2 separate regions of the Homo sapiens genome follow, and region 1 is linked to region 2. The links are contacts of gene promoters, found by promoter capture Hi-C in blood cells and fetal thymus (Javierre and others, 2016). All regions are on one chromosome and are shown on one strand. The core of a region is centred on a gene start or on the middle of the fragment in contact, and the rest is flanking DNA. Distances in the headings are between cores, read along the strand shown. Region 1 overlaps MADD (MAP kinase activating death domain). Region 2 holds the start of MTCH2 (mitochondrial carrier 2).

Evidence for each region. Contacts are between HindIII fragments. The CHiCAGO score rates a contact against its expected background, and 5 or more counts as called.
Region 1: a fragment that was not itself captured here is called in contact with the fragment with the promoter of MTCH2 in region 2 in 1 of 17 cell types (M2 macrophages); the score reaches 5.4 in M2 macrophages.

What each region holds. Positions count from the first base shown.
Region 1 is chr11:47,317,557-47,320,875 of GRCh38, forward strand. All of the region lies in intron 30 of MADD (MAP kinase activating death domain), which reads left to right. Among named protein-coding and RNA genes, the nearest start is that of MYBPC3, 33 kb to the right of the region's middle. The HindIII fragment of the contact is 3,885 bases long and covers 1-3,319 here.
Region 2 is chr11:47,640,999-47,644,328 of GRCh38, forward strand. MTCH2 (mitochondrial carrier 2) reads right to left here and starts at 1,561. Exons shown (of 13, transcript NM_014342.4): 1 at 1,381-1,561. The coding sequence starts at 1,467. RefSeq lists a silencer at 1,482-1,751. The HindIII fragment of the contact is 6,217 bases long and covers 1-3,330 here.

The DNA.
Region 1 (3,319 bases), core at 287-2,786, 320 kb before region 2:
TTTAGAGGTTTGATCACTTTCAGATTCACTCTTTTGGGAAGAATACTTAATGAGTGGTGCTATACGCTTCCTATTGCCTCATATGGTTGTCCCTCTCTTACACATCAGTGGGCTCAGATGTGGGCAACCTGATCTGCCCACCAGAAAGTTCCTCATTTGTCTTCTGATTTTGCCTATGGTATTTTTTGACACACATAAATTTTTTATTTGTATATAACTTTTTTTTTTTTTTGAGACAGAGTCTCTCTCTATCGCCCAGGCTGGATGCAGTGGCATGATCTCGGCTCACTGCAACCTATACCTCCCGGGTTCAAGCAGTTCTCCTGCCTCAGCCTCCCAAGTAGCTGGGTTTACAGGTGCCTGCCACCACACCCGGCTAATTTTTGTGTTTTTAGTAGAGATGGGGTTTTACCATGTTGGCCAGGGTGGTCTCGCACTCCTGACCTCAAGTGATCCACCCACCTCGGCCTCCCAAAGTGCTGGGATTACAGGTGTGAGCCATCACGCCTGGCTACTTTTATATAATTAAATTAATCAATAGTTTCTTTTACGGCTTCTGGATTTTGAGGCATGGTTAGAAAAAGCCTTACTCTCCAGGATTATAAAGGAAATTGGCCGTGTTTTCTTCATTTCTGTGTTTTTAATTCTGAAACAGACCTAAGTAATTTTAAGGACCAAATACAACTCCTATATATAAAGTAGTAAAATTTTGCCTATGTTATCTGTTCCCCTGTGGTTTAGCTGAATTTGAATATCACATTCACAGTTTTTTTGAACAGGTGGTCTACCAAACGCAAGAAGGGCTTACCCTGAAGCAGAAACATACATGTCAGTGTAGCCAAGAAGGAGTCATTTTCATGTCACCCTTTAAAGTGTTAGAATTTGGCTAGTTGCCTCTCAGAGCCTAGGGCTGACTTAGGACATCTGCACCACAGCAGAAGTGGCACATGACTCTTGCCCTTTTCTTTTCCTTTTAAAAAAAATATCTCCAGCAGATTCCTTGAACTACTCTTACTCTCACCACCGTACAAAGGGAGCCTCATGCTAAGTCTCTGGAGTGTGGGACTGGACCCATTACCCAAATAGATGCCTCTTCCTCGAAGTGGTGCCATGCCAGGGAAGAGTGCACCATGGTCACTGTGCCATCACCTGGCTCCTGTGAGGCTATTTGATTTAGCCTTTCTCAGAGCATAGCCTGCTTTTTGCATGATCAACTGGACAGCAGTTTGGGAATTTTTTTTTTTTTTTTTTTTTTTTTTTTTTTTTTTTGAGACAGAGTCTCACTCTGTTGCCCAGGCTGAAGTGCAGTGGTACAATCTTGGTTCACTGCAACCTCCACTTCCCAGGTTCAAGCGATTCTCCTGCCTCAGCCTCCTGAGTAGCTGGGACTACAGGCACATGCCATCATGTCTGGCTAATTTTTGTATTTGTAGTAGAGACGGGGTTTCACCATTTTGGCCAAGCTGGTCTCGAACTCCTGACCTCAAGTGATCTGCCCACCTCAGCCTCCCAAAGTGCTGGGATTACAGGTGTGAGCTGCCACACCTGGCCAAGGAAAATATATATATATATATAATTTTTTTTTTTTTTTTGGAGGTGGAGTCTTGCTCTGTCACCCAGGCTGGAGTGCAGTGGCACAATCTTGGCTCACTGCAACATCCACCCACCGACTTCAAGAGATTCTCCTACCTCAGACTCCCGAGTAGCTGGGACTACAGGCACGCATCACCACGCTTGGCTAATTTTTGGTATTTTTAGCAGAGATGGGGTTTTGCCATGTTGGCCAGGATGGTCTTGAACTCCTGACCTTAAGTGATCCGTCTGCCTTGGCCTCCCAAAATGCTAGGATTACAGGTGTGAGCCACCATACCCAGCCAAAGATTTTTAAAAATTGTCTTTGTTGCCCTTTTTTTAGTTACAGAAGTAAAACAGTATATGCTGTAAATGTTTCAAACCGTGCCAAAGTTAAAAAATAATTAAAAGTTTTACTCACTGCCTTTCAATCCTTTGTCCCAGAGGTAACCAGTAATGAAGAGTTTTATGTGACTCCTTTCAGATTATTGAAAATGCATATTTGTGCAAATATAATTTATTTATATGGAATTTTGTTTTTGCACTTACGAAAGTGGTATCAAATTACAAATATTGGGCTGGGCATGGTGGCTCACATGAGCCTGTAATCCCAGCACATTGGGAGGCCGAGGCAGGTGGATAACTTGAGGTCAGGAGTTCCAGACAAGCCTAGCCAACGTGGTGACACCCTGTTTCTACTAAAAATACAAAAATTAGCCGGGCGTGTTGGGCAGGCGCCTGCAATCCCAGCTACATGGGAGGCTGAGGCAGGAGAATCGCTTGAACCCGGAGGCGGAGGTTGCAGTGAGCCGAGATCATGCCACTGCTCTCCAGCCTGGGTGACAAAGCGAGACTCCATCGCAAAAAAAAAAAAAAAAAAAAAATTACAAATATTGTTAAATAATTTGCTTTTTTCACTTAATGATATACCTTTCCGTGTCTTTTTTTTTTTTTCTTTAATGGATGCTTAGCCATTAGATGTCGTATGGTGTACCATAATTGGTTTAACTAGTGCCTCTCACTATTTTTTAAAAAAATATTACTCATGCTGGGTGTGGTGGCTCACGCCTGTAATCCCAGCACTTTGGGAGGCCAAGGTGGGTGGATCACGAGGTCAAGAGTTCAAGATCAGCCTGGCCAAGATGGTGAAACCCTGCCTCTACTAAAAATACAAAAAATTAGCCAGGCGAGGTGGTGGGTGCTTGTAATCCCAGTTACTTGGGAGGCTGAGGCAGAGAATTGTTTGAACCTGGGAGGCGGAGGTTGCAGTGAGCCGAGATTGCACCACTTCACTCCAGCCTGGGCGACAGAGCAAGACTCCGTCTCAAAAAAAAAATTTAAAAAAATGAAATATATATTTATATATTACTCATTAGGCCAAGCATGTTGGCTCACGCCTGTAATCCCAGTACTTTGGGAGGCTGAGGCAGGAGGATTGCTTGAGCCCAGAGTTTGAGACCAGCCTGGGCAACATAGGGAGACCCTGTCTCTATAAAAAATTTAAAAATTAGTCATACATGTGGTGATGTATGCCTGTGGTACCAGCTACTGGGGAGGCTGAGGTGGGAGGTTCGCTTGAGCCCAGGAGGTCAAAACCAGCCTGGGCAACATAGGGAAACCCCGTCTCCACAAAAAATTTTAAAATAAGCTAGGCATGCTAGTGCATGCCTATGGTCCTAGCTACTGGGGAGGCTAAGTTGGGAGGATCCTTGAGCCTGGGAGGTCAAGGCTTCAGTGAGCTCTGATT
Region 2 (3,330 bases), core at 311-2,810:
CGATTCTCCTGCCTCAGCCTCCCGACTAGCTGGGATTACGTGCACGCACCACCACACCTGGCTATATTTTGTATTTTTAGTAGAGACGGGGTTTCACCATGTTGGTCAGACTGGTCTCAAACATCGACCTCGTGATCCGCTCACCTCGGCCTCCCAAAGTGCTGGGAAGGCGTGAGCGAACGCGCCCGGCCCCAAGGGTTCTTACTATATACTGCAACATGCTGTCACCTCCGATGCTATCTAGCCCCAAATGTGCCAATTCTGTTTTGGATGTTACAGTACATTCTAATCAGTCTTTGTTCTAAGTACAAAGAATTTATTTGCAATAGCCTTTAACATATGGAATCTGAATTCACACAGGTCTACTCAGCAAGAAATAATTTGGATTCCCAACAACTCAAGAATAAGAAATGGGGCCCTCTCTAGTGTCTTGCCTATTTTTTACAGAAAAGTAGACGGCGAGACAGGGGTTCTAAAAACTGTTCCATTCCTAGGCACAGTGCATGAGGTAATTATGTCAACTCTCAGTAAAAGCATAAAAAAAAGAATGACCTGCCCATTACAGGGATATAGCAAAGGAACTGGAAACACTAAGTCTATCACTTACTTGGCCTACCTGCATGTGAATATAAAATACCATGTAATAATTATTTGACAGTAGATTAGAAACTAACTCCCATGTTTAAACTCGCTAAAACTCAGCTTCACTAATTTCCAGCTCTGACAAATGTGATTTTCATTGTCAGGAGCCACATGGGCCGCTGCTGGAAAGCGCTCAATGCATCCTTCCGAAATCTGACAGAGCAACCCCTTCATTAACACTTCTGAATGAGCTCCTTGTGTTTCTCTCAGTATCTGGTGCGAAAACCTCGGAACAGAAAAGCAGTAGTAACAGTAGCATAAAAAGAAAAAAAAAAGGAATAAAAAATAAAATGTTGGTTCCCACCTAACTTCACATTTGTCTTCAACTGAGTATTTCGTGTTTTGCGTCTGAGATTTTGGGGGGAGTAGTGGTGAATGTGAATTTCGGAGGGGCGAGAGGGAGGGTTCGGAAGCCTTTGGTGGCGACCGGCCAGGATCCACCTCAGTGACGAAGAACCAAAGTTCAGAGGATCCGCCGGGCAGGGCAGGGCCGGGTGGCGGTTGGCTAAGGGAGGAGAGGGCCTCAACGCTGGGCGGCGAGGCGAGGGCTCGGCGAGGCCCCCAAGCGGGGCCGCGGGACTGAGGAAGCTGTCCCTGCGGGGAGGTAAAGGGCAGCGGAGGAGCAGCAGCATCTCGGGAGAATGAAAGGCCCGCAAGGCTGAGCCGATCCTCAGGCGCCCTGAGCAGCAGCGACCGAACGGGGCGCCGGGCGGGGTAGGGAGCGGCGACGCCTCATACCTGGATGAGCACTTTCACGTACATGAGCGGCTGGGACAGGATGGTGAGACCGGAGCCCAGGAGCACCTGACTGGCCGCGTCCGCCATGATGGCACCCGCGGGCGGACGGACAGACAGACGGAGCCACCAAGCGACCCGGTGAGCCGGTCCTAGGTCACGTGCCAGGGCCGCCGGTTTCACTGGCCCGCCCGCGGCGCGCGCGCACGCACGCAGCAGCACGCGCCTCTCCGCCCAGTCCCCGCCCCCCCGTCCCGCCCCGAGAAACGGCAGGCGCTCGCGAGGGGGCGCTGAGGTCGGGGCGGGGCTTAAGGGACAGAGGCGCATGCGTTCTGCCGGGGGCTCGCCCTTCACCAGGAATGACGGTTTCTCTTGCACATGCGCTTCCAGGCCGCAAGTGTCCGGAAACAGAAGAATGGGAGTGTCAGTGGGGGAGTGTGACCGTGACGGCAGAGGCAAGGTCAGAGGACTGAAAAGAAATTGAAAAGGATTCTTCATTATGCTTCATCTCTGCACTTGCCTTTTGGGCATCATCAACATAGGATTCAAAAGATACTCAGCATCAGAGCCGTAACAGTCTCGTGACTGACAAACTCTAAATAAGTATAGCAAATAATGAATCCGCTAGCGAGTGGCTTTTCATTCATTTATTCGTTTGATTAATGTTATCTTTTCAAAAAAACCTTCTCTGACCATTCTAAAATTACCTCCCCCTTTTCTTTTTCTTTCTTTTTTTTTTTTTTTTTGAGACGGAGTCTCGCTCTGTCACCCAGGCTGGAGTGCAGTGGCCCGATCTCAGCTCACTGCAACCTTCGCCTCCCAGGTTCAAGCAATGCTCCTGCCTCAGCCTCCCTAGTAGCTGGGATTACACGCACACGCCACCACGCCCGGCTAATTTTTGTCTATTTAGTAGAGACGGGGTTTCACGATGTTGGCCGGGCTGGTCTCAAACTCCTGACCTCGTGATTCACCCGCCTTGGCCTCCCAAAGTGCTGGGATTACAGGAGTGAGGAGCCATCGCGCCTGGCCACCTCCCTCTTATTTTCTCCCACATTGTGCCCCGTCGTAGCATTATCACTGAAATTATGTCTCCTCCACTGGAATGAAAGCTCCATGAGTTCAGGAACCGTGACAGCCTCTGTTCACGGTTGTGTTTTCAGTGCCCAGCACATACGAGGTGCTCAATAAATATTTATTGCACAAGTGAACAAATACTTCAGTGCCTACCAGTCTACAGGCTATCAGAGGCAAAAGTGAAAAAGGCATTGTCCCTGCTCCTTCAGCCCCAGCTCACGTGTTCTATCAAACAACATTTGGTGAATCTGAGCTTGGAGCAGAGTGAAGTACTGTAGGGGAAAGACTTGGATTTGGATCCTGGCTTTTCCACTGCATCCATTTGTCATTTTAGCTACTTTAATTTCCAGTTTTTGTATCTAAATCTAACACTACTGTGTATCTCTCAGGGTTATTATGAGCATTAAGTGAAATTATGCATAGGAAAGGGTTTTTTTTAAAAAACTTTATATTGAAATACAGATATTGGCTGGGCACGGTGGCTCACACCTGTAATCCCAACACTTTAGAAGGCTGAGGTGGGTGGATCACCTGAGGTCGGGAGTTCAAGACCAGCCTGACCGACATGGTGAAACCCCATCTGTACTAAAAGTACAAAAATTAGTTGGGTGTGATGGCGGGTGCCTGTAATCCCAGCTACTCGGGAGGCTGAGGCAGGAGAATCGCTTGAACTCGGGAGTTGGAGGTTGCAGTGAGCCAAGATTGCGCCATTGCACTCCAGCCTGGGTGACAGGGCGAGACTCAGTCTCAAAAGAATAAATAAATAAAAAATAAAGTTGTAAGAAACAAGTTGCTTCTAACTGAATCTAGAAACATAAAGCTGAGCCAGAGAGACTATTTAGCAGGGGATTCTTTTCTTTTTTTTTTTGAGACAGGGTC